Linked DNA regions of Homo sapiens: regions 1, 2 and 3 are each linked to region 4. Evidence: promoter capture Hi-C in 16 types of primary human blood cells and fetal thymus (Javierre and others, 2016). All regions are on one chromosome and are shown on one strand. Each heading gives the region's core, a stretch centred on a gene start or on the middle of the fragment in contact. The rest is flanking DNA. Distances are from core to core; before and after follow the strand shown.

Region 1 (3,030 bases), core at 154-2,653, 2.6 Mb before region 4:
CTCCACTGCCTATCCCAAAATCTATAAGAACTAATGATAATCTCACCATCCTTTGCTCTTTTCGGACTCAGCCCGCCTGCACCCAGGTGAAATAAACAGCCTTGTTGCTCACACAAAGCCTGTTTGGTGGTCTCTACACATGGACGCATGTGACACCCACATACTTGCCAAATTACTTCTATTTTGCAACAGCTCTAGCTTAAAATCTTGTATTGTTCATGGGTTTACTACACAGCAAAAAATTACAAAATATTTAATCTCTAATACCTTTGAGAAAGTATGCCTATATAAAATACTCTAGTTTAATTTGAGCATATAATTCTATCAAATAAGAATTCTAAGAATAACCTCTTTTAAGATGAAACATTAACAAGATATAGCAACTGGATTCCTGATAGAAACTTTATGTTTCTGTTCTTTTACTTCGAATAACCTTATTATTTAAACAGCCTAAGTAAAGACAAAAACCAAAATAAAAACAATAGTCTCTTCCCCAAATTTTGAGCACTTCGAGCTCATTGCAACCAGATGCTACATTTAGCTCTGTGGTTATCAGGAACTAATTTATTACCATTAAAAGTAATAATTTAACTAAATGAAAGCAAAATAATTAAAAATAAAAAATTCTTTCATTGTATTGCCTTGAGGTAACAAGACTAACATTTTATCTCATAGTCCCTATAGTATCTTCTATTTAAAAACAAGAACACTAGGAGGCAAGAAAAACGAAAAACAAAAAACAAAACAAAAAAAACACAGACTCACACTGATAATACATGTGTACATCTGCCCTCATTAGCAATGGCCATCATAACTTGCTTCACGTGTTCAAATGATGCAAGATTCAAATTTCTAAATGATCAATATTGCTTGCAATAGCTTTCTCTTAGAGACTAAAAATGTTCTCTTATTATCTTTATTATCAGTATATAATACTGACCAACTCCAACAAGAATCAATATTTACACCTTGGTGAGCAATTCCATTCCTCAAGCTAACCTCAATTAATAGTATTCTACTTAAACAAGTCATACATACATCCAACATTAGTTTTTTCTTTGTTTTTTGACAATACAGTATCAGATACTAGCTGCCCCTCTTTTTAAGCACAATACTGCCACACCTCTGAATGAAAACAAAAAGATAGCTGATGTCTGGCAGAAACTCAGAAACAGCAAGATGAAACAAATGAACAAATCAACTCAGTATATAATATTTACACAAAGCAAATGATGCCTTCCCATTTCCTCCTCCAGGCTCATTCTACTCTAACTCAATCCTGTAATTGTGCTCTATCCCAACCCTGCATTATGTAATAGACAGCCAGCTGGGCTAATTTGGCCTTGGATTTTTTTAGAGAGGAAAATTCATAAATTGATTGATGTTGTAATTAAGTGTAACAGTTATTTATTCTAGGATGAATTCCTGTTTTGAAACTGCTTAATTCTATCCAATGACCACAGACTTTGCATCTCTAACTGCAACTATATATTCAACAATTAGTCATCTTCACAGAGGAAATAAAACCAAAGAGTGCAATAAGAACAGCATACTTTCATCTCCGCTCTTGATTTCAGATAAAGAGCCATGTTCAAATTACACCTCTGTTTGGCAAGAATGTTAATGATATCCTTAAAATCAAAACTTAGTTTTATTTGGCATTTGAGGTAATAAAACCTAAGGCAGAATAGGATCTTTACAGAATGTCTAGCCCACAACCGTTATTTTATAGATGAGGAAACATGAAGCCTCGGCAGGGATAGTTTAACTGATTTCCTCATTAGGAGAAATTACCGTCCCGTCCGGGAGGTGAGGGGCGCCTCTGCCTGGCCGCCCCTACTGGGAAGTGAGGAGCCCCTCTGCCCGGCCGCCCCTACTGGGAAGAGAGGAGCCCCTCTGCCCGGCCAGCCGCCCCATCCGGGAGGGAGGTGGGGGGGTCAGCCCCCCGCCCGGCCAGCCGCCCCGTCCGGGAGGTGAGGGGCACCTCTGCCCGGCCGCCCCTACTGGGAAGTGAGGAGCCCCTCTGCCCGGCCACCACCCCGTCTGGGAGGTGTACTCAACAGCTCATTGAGAACGGGCCATGATGACAATGGCGGTTTTGTGGAATAGAAAGGGGGGAAAGGTGGGGAAAAGATTGAGAAATCGGATGGTTGCCATGTCTGTGTAGAAAGAGGTAGACATTGTAGACTTTTCATTTTGTTCTGTACTAAGAAAAATTCTTCTGCCTTGGGATCCTGTTGATCTGTGACCTTACCCCCAACCCTGTGCTCTCTGAAACATGTGCTGTGTCCACTCAGGGTTGAATGGATTAAGGGTGGTGCAAGATGTGCTTTGTTAAACAGATGCTTGAAGGCAGCATGCTCGTTAAGAGTCATCACCACTCCCTAACCTCAAGTACCCAGGGACACAAACACTGCGGAAGGCCACAGGGTCCTCTGCCTAGGAAAACCAGAGACCTTTGTTCACTTATCTGCTGACCTTCCCTCCACTATTGTCCTGTGACCCTGCCAAATCCCCCTCTGCGAGAAACACCCAAGAATGATCAATTAAAAAAAAAAAAGAAATTACAGAAATAGGTCTAGAAGGCAGGTCTCCTAGGTTATTTCCATACTACCATGTGTCTTCACCAAAAACAAAAGACAATTTTAGAGAAAAGATTAGTTATGCAAACCATTTTTTTTTTTCAGACGGAGTCTCGTTCTGTCGCCCAGGCTGGACTACAGGCGCCCACCATCACGCCCCGCTAATTTTTTATATTTTTAGTAGAGACGGGGTTTCGCCCTGTTAGCCTGTATTCCGCCTGCCTCTGCCTCCTAAAGTGTTGGGATTACAGGCGTGAGCCACCACGCCCAGCACAGAAACCATTCTTAAAACTCACAAGGAGCCGGGCGCAGTGGCTCAAGCCTGTAATCCCGAGGCAGGCGGATCACGAGGTCAAGAGGTCGAGACCATTCTGGCCAACATGGTGAAACCCCATCTCTACTAAAAGTACAAAACTTAGCTGGGCGTGGTGGCGCTCACCTGTATTCC
Region 2 (3,114 bases), core at 615-3,114, 2.1 Mb before region 4:
GAGTACATCCCAATTTAGCCCCGCTGCGGCTGCTGGACATCACATTTTAAAGAAAAGTGACCTGAATACTTTTACTCATAACAACAACAGAAAAAGTAAAGTAACATAATTTTTGCAATATACCTACCTAGTACCTTGAGCTTCCAGATGTTTAAGCCGGTTGCTTTTAAGAAGTTTGTTACCCAGAAAAATGGCCTGAGCCTTGAGTTTTTTGCTCCTGCACCATACAACTGCCATCTGGATTTCTTCAGAAAGTTGTGTGAAGGACTCAGCCTCTCGGAATCTTTGCACAAAACTTTTGGCATGAGGAGTTCCTATCACTTTCTGAGAAGAATACTTGGTTGTCTTTAGTCTGGATTGAGAACATTTAAAATCAAAACTGGTCTCCTGAAACGTGGAAAGATGAGAAAAATATATTGGACATGTTACTGACTTGTAATTATATGACAACAAGGAAAGCTAGCTCACAATCAAAATTTAAAAATTAGAATTATCAGTCCCTAAATGCTTGAAGTGATGGATACCCCATTTACCCTGTGGTTATTATGCACTATATGCTTATAACAAAATACGTACCCCATAAATATATATACCTGCTACGTACCCACAAAACCTAAAAATTAAAAAAAAAAAATCAGTCTGTAAGGAAATTTTTTTGCTCACTAAGCTTTCCTTATGTCTTTAAAAACTGAATTTTTCTCCACTGCTCCAAATACAAGTTGTTTTGTTCCCCCTCTGTACCAGGACAGGTCCCATCTGCAGCTGAATTAGATTGACATAGGAAAGTTAACATAAATATCCTAACACACATATCTCACATACACAATAAAAAAACCCCACATGATTAAATACTGGTCAAAGCCTAATTGCAGAGGGTTGGGGGATCACTGAAAGGCCCCTCTTCGCTACACCACCAGATTATCACGACTTGTTTTTCACTTATTTCCGTATCCTGGGCAAACCTCCTCAATTTAGAAATGTTTCTGAAAACAGGGAAGATATGGGGCCCTGCAGAGTGCCCAGCAGAATAAGCCCATTAATCAGTTAATGCCTGCTGAATATCTATTAAAAATGCTCAATTGAGCAACACTTCCAATTCTACTTCAACCATCTTCTGACAAGGCACCTTTACTTCTTCAACCCCTTCTTTCTATATCAAGTCACATTTGGATTTTACTAACGTTTACTATTTCTTTATGAAAATATGCTGCCTACGAGATGATCTGCTCTTTCATTCAAAGCTTACCTTCTTCCAAATTTCTTACACTCAAAAGGAACTTTAAAAAAAAGTAGAAAATATAAAAGTAATGACCCAGGTCAATAGTTTATGTTTGGTGATCAATAGAAGTAGTTTGCTTTAAAGCTAAGCAAGTTAGTGCTATTTGCTAAAAATATAGTAGCAGTTAGTTTTGAGTAAGAGGGATGCTGACCCACCAACTTCAAAGCCAGCTCACCTACAAACAGGTGCACAGGCTGCAGAAGTTTCAAGGTTCACAAAGCACCATAGTTCTTGAGATACAGTTGAAAAACTGTTCTGGGGACTGGTGAATAGTAAAGAAGAAAGACTATGAAACCATACTGCCTGCATTCAAATCGCAGCTCTACCATTTATTCACTATGTGGCCTGGCAGTTTCTTGGCCTTTCTATGCCTCAGTTTCCTCATCTGAAATATGAAAACAGTAATAAGCATGCCCACCTCACAGAGCTTTTGTGATATAATTACATGACTTCATGCATATAAAAGCACTTAGAACAATGCCTGGCACAGAAAGTATTACTCCTCACTCTGAATTCATAAATTGGACAGAACATCAATGGAAGCTGGAGTCCTTAAGTTCAAGAAAATATGTTTAAGAATTCTTAAATAAAAGAAGTAAACTAACCCATGAAAAATACCAGAAGTAGACATTTTGCAAAGACAGGGTTAAAAAAAAAAAAAAGTCAAGTTACTGAGTAAAACAGTAATGCCGATGTACTTATATGCTGTTAGGTCCAGAACAAACAGAATTTACAGACATTAATCAATCATGTTAAAACTTGAACCTCAACAGGAGTAAAGGAATAGCTTCATGACAAAATGATGAGGATGATGACCAAAATGACCGTAGCTAATAACATCTAACTCCAATTAAATGCTTACCATACTCCAGACTACCGAACGCTTTACATGCATTAAAACTAGCACAACCCTATGAGGCACATATTACTATTACAAAATAGAGGTACGGAGAGATCAGGAAACTCACAGAAGGTCACACAGCTAGTACCAAAGCCAGGATTCAAACCAACTGTCTGACTGCAAAGCCTATACTCTTAAGCTGCAGTACAATCCATACTTAACAACAGATCTTACGGTTACTTTAAAATTCTAGAGAAACTCCTACTAAAATATTTCTGAAGGTACTCTATTAACTGAATTAACTAGATGTATTAAAAATCCCTTGCCTCTATTCATTCAGAAGCACACACTGACAACTAAGAAGGCACTAAGCTTAGAGCTGGGGATAAAATGAAAAGATTCAATCTCTGCCCTTGGTAAGAAGCATCCTCTACAAATTAGCAGAAATCATAAGCTAAATTTAATGAAGCCAGACAAACCTGAGTAGCTTTGTGTTTCAGCTGGTTGCAGAAAGCCCTCACATCAAATTCTGATGACTCTTCTGTGGAGGTGGAAAAATTGCAGATACAAAACCTTAGGCATACTATTTTCAAATCTACAACAAATTCTTAAGTGCATGACATTTCTTGCCAAATTACCACAAAATAAAGGAATAAAGCAAGCAAATAACTAGGAAGCAACTACAGAAACAAATAAACAACTTAAAGTACTCAAGCTTAGAAAGCACAGGTATTACCATACCTCTCTAATCAATATGAGTCAAAATTAAGATGTGAGATGTTGAATTTCTTTCTATGCAATGCATGACTATTACTTTCAAAAGGTTTCTTTTTATTTGTTTTTTGTTTTACTAGAGTATGTGCTGTATCAAAGCAAATTACCTTTGAAGACTCTCTTATTCTTTACTGGCTGTCCAAGATCCACATTATTCTGTACATTGATCTTCATTTGTTTAGCTTTTTTTGAAATTCCAAGCAAGGTTTCTTCACTGGCT
Region 3 (3,287 bases), core at 111-2,610, 2.2 Mb before region 4:
TGTTCTGTATTGAGAAAAGGAAGTAGATAAGATCTTTTTTGATTTAATATTTCTATCTTTTACTTGGCTAAATATGATAAAGCAATGAAACCTGTAAGAAGTAGTGCTCTGCTTCCTAGTCAAAGTATCTTTAATTCTGGAAATTTTCAGCAAATTTCCTCCTTTTACTTCATTTTTTTCAAGTACTCCTATAATATTGTTTGGTTTGCTTTTGTTTTGTGTTGTTTTGTTTTTTGAGACAGAGTTTTGCTCTCTCACCCAGGCTGGAGTGCAGTGGTGTAATCTCAGCTCACTGCAATCTCTGCCACTCAGGCTCAAGAAATTCTCATGCCTCAGCCTCCCAAGTAGTTGGGATTGTGGGCGTGCACCACCATACCTGGCTAATTTTTTGCATTTACAGTAGAGAAAGGGGTTTCATCATGTTAGCCAGGCTGGTCTCCTACTCCTGGCCTCAAATCGATCTGCCCACCTCGGCCTCCCAAAGTGCTGGGATTACAGGACCAAGCCACCATGCCCAACTCTTACAATACTGTTATTTAAATTTCTTCTTTTCACCTTCGCAGCTCTTAACTTTTAAATTCTTTATATTTTTTATCCCTTCCTAATATTTATTGAAATATTCTCCAATCTAATTATCCTGCTATTTTGTTCTTTGAGTTGATAATATTATTCAACTATTAAACACATCCATTGAGAAATTTACTTCACAATAATATAATTCATATCTAATATGTTCAACTGGTACTTCTTAGAAGCTTCCTGTTTCATGTTTGCCATATATTCCCTTATCTCTGAGGATATTTTCTGTTTTTATTTAAATTCTTTGCCCACCAAGTCCATTCATTCTGATTACTTCTAGAATGAATTATCTTTTTCTTACTTTTTCTTCTATTGCTTGTGGGTTCATAATGTGAGTTCGTGAGATTATACTATTATGGTAAAATCAGCTATCTTTTAAAAAAAATCAGCTATCTTGGTAAATAACAGATACCTAGAGAGAGGAGTGAAAGGCTAGGTTCTGACTTGCACTAGTCTAGGCAGAAGAGAGATATATCACAGCATTCTGGGCTCAACCACTCGTGCGCCTGCCACCCATGAGATCCTGCCTATTAGGTAACCACCTAGTACCACTACACCAGGCATTATTCCTTTCTAGAGAGTAATCACAAAACATTGTTTGAATCTGATTGTCCAGCCCCTAGAGGAGGATGGGTAAGGAGGTTGGAGGGAATGTTCAAGGACATTGCTGCACTCAACTCCAGCTAAACCTGATGTTCATACCAGTTGAATCACCAATTCATTGCACTCCTCTCCAGAGGCCCCATACTTTATTACAGGTGGCTGAGACAGCAGCTTTGATTATAACCTCCTTCCACAGGAAGAATTCTAGTTTTGCCATGTCCTATTAAAATGACTAGAGAAAGTCTGTCCCACTTTTCTCAAAAATCTCCAGAGAAATCACTTGTATTTAGAGCAGAACCTGGAATACATCTTTCCTACAAGTATACAATCTCACAATAAGTGCAGGTGAGAAACTTCTCATTTTTAAATGTTTTTATCTTTTAATCTATGTGCAGAAAACAGTTCATATAGCAGGCCTGTGGCTGCTACCCTTAGAAAGATTTGTTTACAAGATTGGCACTGGGCTGACATTTGAGAACTTGACTGGTAAACAGTTTCCTTGCATGGCACAGAGCCAACTTTCCATTCATGAGTGGCTCACTGTATCTAAACTATTTGAACAAACAAGTGGTACATACTGATGCTGCTTTCCTTCTGCAAATCTGAACTTTCAGTGACTATAGTCAGTCACACAGGCACTAGATGCCTATATGAACAGCGCTCGGTAAAAACCCTGGACTCCTAGACTCAGGTGAGCTTTGCTAGTAGACAACATTTCACACATGTTGTTAAAACTCATTGCTGGCAGAATTAATTGCATCCTGTGCAACTTAGGGGACAATTAGAAGCTTGTGCCTGGCTTCCTCCAAACTTCACTTTGAGTGCCTTTTCCCCTTGCCAGGCTTGCTTTGTATTCTTTTGTTGTTGTAAATTATAGGCATAAGTACAACTATATGCTGAGTTCTGTGCATCCTTGCTCGCCTCATTTGGGAGCTAGTCTTGGGAACACCTGACACACTCTACCTATGAATAAGTTAAAAATTTGAATATACATCAATATATCTGCCTGTGAATGTTGCCTCATCTCCTCAGGGTGTTAGAGAACATTCCATTCACTTCCAACAAGGCAACAAGATATAAACTAGATGTGTACTACAAAGTAAACTTGCCCACTAAAATAACCTTGCTTAACACACAACAAGAATTAAAATGTTAACGAATTAATCAGTCAGAACAGCAAAATCCATACTATTTTCCAAAAACAATTTTAAAAAAACCCTCTGAGCTTGTTACTGATATAAAAACACAACCTGAATATGGTAAATAGTGTTCCAAATTATTTTAATAGCACTTGTATGACACAGAGCCAAATGCAAAATTACGAATGAAAAAAATTAAGACCACTTAAAGCAATCATTTCTCCCTCTATTGATAAAAACAACCTTGAAAGAAGTGAACCTTTACTCCTCCTCCAGAATCCAAATCACTCTACAAACTCACCTCCTACCTATGATTACTGTCTGATGGTTAATCTCCAGATCTCTTTAGAGAAATCTGTCAGTGCAGTAGGCACAACCTTAAAAGAAAGCTCAAACAACTTCTCTGAAAAAGAAACAACTTCTCTAAATTTAGATATATTCTCTAAAGACACATTAATCAGATATTTAAAAAGCTCAATGCTTTCATGAGCTCCAAAGACTAAAATCATGGAAAATAGGTCTCTATTGGTTCTTGAATTATAGTAAAATAATAAATCTCAAGAATAATAATTTATGCCCTAATTAAGAAATTAAGCCTGGGCGTGGTGGCTCATGCCTGTAATCCCAACATTTTGGGAGGCTAAGGCAGGATGATTTCTTGAGGCTAGGAGTTCAAAACTGACCTCAGCAACATAGTGAGACTCTGTCTCTCCAAAAAAAAAAAGCACACACACACAAAAAAACTTTGTAAAATTAGCCAAGGGTGGTTGAGTGCCTGTCGTCTCAGCTACTTAGGAGGCTGAGGCAGGAAGATCACTTGAGCCCAGGAGGTTGAGACTACAGTGAGCCATGATTGTGCCCATTCCAGCCTGGGCAACAGAGCGAGACCTTGTCTCTAAAAAAAAAAAGAAAGAAATTAGGTGAACAAATCAAACTTGTTGTGCCACAAATTTGTGTCAATGTGTC
Region 4 (3,143 bases), core at 282-2,781:
ACAGAAATGAAAACAAACCATTATAAATTTAAAGATGACTGGTTATCACTTAAATTTAGTGTCTACAGCTATTTATTTATAAAATGGTAATTGTGTTTTAAAACTTTCAATGGCAACAAGTTACAACAGTAACTTCAGAATAGCGTTCACTTGAAAACATTGGGTGAATGGCCTCTATAATTTTTTTAGCTGAAATGTATACACCGCCACGCAGTGAGGAAACTTGACTTTAGCACCCTTTTGGTATTTTTAATAGAAAAAACAGTGGAGAAGATTTTCACATGTCTAGAAAGGTAACATGTTCAACTTAGGTTTGGCCAATGCTGATTCTGAGGACAGTACTACACCCGCAAGCTTCCAAACTACTTCCTGATTCATTCAGATTTTCATTGGAGAGCTGTCATCCTGCTACTGACCTCATTCAACCCAGTTCGGAGTGAGAGATCAGCGGATTACCGCGCTAGGTACCGTAGCTGTACGCCATATTGTGTTTTTCGCTAATGTTTAGTTTGTGTGTGTGCCTAGCATATGTTTGTGCAAGTGTGTTTATCAATAGAACTTTTAGAAAATCCCTGCCTCCTGCCTCTTCAGCATCCTTAAAAAGGATAACAGCTGGGGGCGGGGGGTGGGGGGAGGACCCAAAAGCCACACAGACAGGAATACATTAAACAGTGTACGAGAGACGGCATTTGTTTTAAACTTTCAAGAACCTTCCAACCATTTTTATATCAGGAATCAAAAAGTGTTAACATGTTTTAATGTTTCCGAAGTGGCCCAAAGAAGAGAAAGAAGGAAAGGTGTGTCTTCCCTTCCCAAGCCCCCTCCTCTCTAGTCGTAGAAGCGAAGCAGGCGGGGGCCGGGAGCTCCGGCGTCTGGAGAGACATCCAGCGGCTGTGGGGCCAGGACACCTCCTGCCCCCCAGTTCTCTGAAGACGCTCCAGAGACCGCGAGAGCCACGGCAAGCGGGGGAGGGCGAGGAGGGAGGGGGCAGAAGACAAGCGGGCGCCTCTAGCAGCTCCTGAGCCCCGGCTAGTCCCCCTCAGCTCCTCTTCTTGGAAGCAGCGGCTCCAGGCGCAGGGAGTAGAGAGAAGAAGGCAGAAGACACGTTTCCAGCTGCGGGACGTCCCGCCCGCCCCGCCACCCTTCGACCCTCCCGCGCCTCCCTCCCACCTCCCCGCCGGGTCGGGCGAGGCAGCCGCCGGGCGCTAAGAAGGGCGCCGGGGGAGGGGGCGCGGGCGGGGCGGGGCGGGGCGGGGCGCGGGGGCGCGCGCGCTCATCCAGCTCAGGGCCCGCTGGCTCGCCGCTCTGTAACTCGCTCCCCCAACCCCACCCCGCTCCCCTCCTTCCCAGTCCCGCCGCCCCCCACTCCAGGCGCCTCGCAGACGCCTCATCCCCCTCGGCACGCACACACTCCTCCCTCTCTCCCGCCCGTCCCACAACAAATTAGAGTTTGTGGCATTACCTCCTCGCGCTCTTTAATCTTCTTTCCTCAACTCCTAAACTTCCCCCCGCCCCTACTTCTTCGGCAGAAGGCCCACATTGGACGCTTCACTCCGCGAACCCTCTATCTCTCCCCGCTATAGGATAGCTCTCACGCCAATCTTGGCTTCAGTGAGCCAATGAGAATGGGACGCCCCTCGTGAGGTTGCCGCCCATAAACAAAATGCACTCTTCCTTCTCCCCTCCGCCCCCCCGTCCCCGCCCCTTTCTTCCTCTTCCCTCATCTCTGTCACCTTCGATTGGGCTAAAAGAGGCCCAATCCGCTATCTCAAACATCCATTGGGACGCGGAAACTTCGCTCAGAGAAGTATTAACAGGCGATTGGTGGACAATCCTTCCACTTCGCCCACCCCCACAACCCCCTCCCCCCGCCGCACCTTCACCCTTTCTGAAAAGGTCAATCGTATCTCGTTGTTCAGTGATCCGGGAGGTGGAAGGCTATTGGTTCAGGGAGCCCGTCAGACCGGACTGGAGTGAGCCATGATTGGTCGACACAGGCGCAATCAGGTTAGGTTGCTTACTCCTCCGCTCCTCCCTCCTTTTCCTCCACGCCCCATCTCCCCCACCCCCTACTGCTTTTACTTTCTACGCATTTCTATTTCCTCCTTTATTTATTTATTTGTGATAAACTTAAATGACCCGGCGACGGAGGCGGTACTCTAGGAGAAGGCTGAGGATGACGAGCGGCGGCCTGGGGCCAATTGCCGAGAGGGCTGCGGGGTGAGGGGCAGCGGCGGTGGCCAGTGAGAGGCAGGTGTCTGGAGCGCGCTGGGCCTGTGGAGCCGGGATGCCCCAGCGGAGGCGGCGGTTACCCGCTGTCTGGCGCGGCGAGCTGCGCCGGGGGAGCCGCGGGAGCGGAGAGGGGGGTGTCGCTGTCTTGGACAGCTGAGGCAGCGGGATGGAGGCTGGATCCCGGGCGGTGGGTGGGAAAGCCGGAGGGAGGGTCTGGCTGGCGGCAGCGCGCAAGGCCGCACCGGGTCACGCTTGATTCCCGCGGAATGGGGCGCAGGTTGCCAGACCGGGTCCCCAGTGCTAGGGCTCAAGGAAGAATTTGTTCATGCAGAAGATTTAGAAAAATACTATGTAAAAGAGTTTGGAGTAAGCCTCCCTTAATATAAATGAGATTTATTATCCTGCCGGAAAAAGCAGATTATGTTTCTTATTACTGAACGCCTGAAGTACCAACGACTCAACCAGAGCCCACAGAATTCAATATCCTGGGTGGTAAAAGGAACAAATAAAGCAACACGGAAAATTAAGTGTGGTTCAAATGCTTCAATAAAATCTTCGTCCTCAACCATTTGTCATTCAACATAGCACTCCCCAGAGCCAAATTCTTACCAAATATTGGTCCAGTACTCAGGCATTGGAGAAAAAAATGAGGCTGAAGTCCAGCAGGAAGCCCAGGATAGATTCCTAAAAAGGATTTCTTACAAGGGCCAAGATGGGAGGGTTGGGGAAATCGCTTTTCACTATACAAAGAAAAAAAAATAATTACTGCCAAACTAAGTTGCACTTTTTTAGGCAGCTGATATAGCAATATTTTGTCACAAAATAAGAGACTTTATCAAAAATACCATGCATGCAAAGAATACACTGTACTTGGGATTTGAAAATGACATTGTTTCTAGGACATGGATTTG

Evidence for each region. Contacts are between HindIII fragments. The CHiCAGO score rates a contact against its expected background, and 5 or more counts as called.
Region 1: a contact is called between a fragment that was not itself captured here and the fragment with the promoter of ZBTB20 in region 4, in 1 of 17 cell types (neutrophils). The highest score is 5.5, in neutrophils.
Region 2: a fragment that was not itself captured here is called in contact with the fragment with the promoter of ZBTB20 in region 4 in 1 of 17 cell types (neutrophils); the score reaches 5.2 in neutrophils.
Region 3: a contact is called between a fragment that was not itself captured here and the fragment with the promoter of ZBTB20 in region 4, in 1 of 17 cell types (neutrophils). The highest score is 5.2, in neutrophils.

The regions. Positions count from the first base shown.
Region 1 is chr3:112,554,472-112,557,501 of GRCh38, forward strand. All of the region lies in intron 2 of ATG3 (autophagy related 3), which reads right to left. Among named protein-coding and RNA genes, the nearest start is that of ATG3, 6.0 kb to the right of the region's middle. The HindIII fragment of the contact is 3,918 bases long and covers 1-3,030 here.
Region 2 is chr3:113,008,044-113,011,157 of GRCh38, forward strand. It overlaps RMP64 (ribonuclease MRP subunit p64), which reads right to left. Exons shown (of 9, transcript NM_015412.4): 6 at 3,002-3,114; 7 at 2,600-2,661; 8 at 128-387. Among named protein-coding and RNA genes, the nearest start is that of NEPRO-AS1, 9.9 kb to the right of the region's middle. The HindIII fragment of the contact is 1,251 bases long and covers 1,240-2,490 here.
Region 3 is chr3:112,982,971-112,986,257 of GRCh38, forward strand. No RefSeq gene overlaps it. Among named protein-coding and RNA genes, the nearest start is that of GTPBP8, 6.4 kb to the right of the region's middle. The HindIII fragment of the contact is 1,215 bases long and covers 754-1,968 here.
Region 4 is chr3:115,145,757-115,148,899 of GRCh38, forward strand. It overlaps ZBTB20 (zinc finger and BTB domain containing 20), which reads right to left and starts at 1,532. Exons shown (of 12, transcript NM_001348800.3): 1 at 1,463-1,532. RefSeq lists enhancers at 208-317, 2,048-2,257 and silencers at 998-1,267, 1,578-1,747, 2,308-2,527. The HindIII fragment of the contact is 9,545 bases long and covers 353-3,143 here.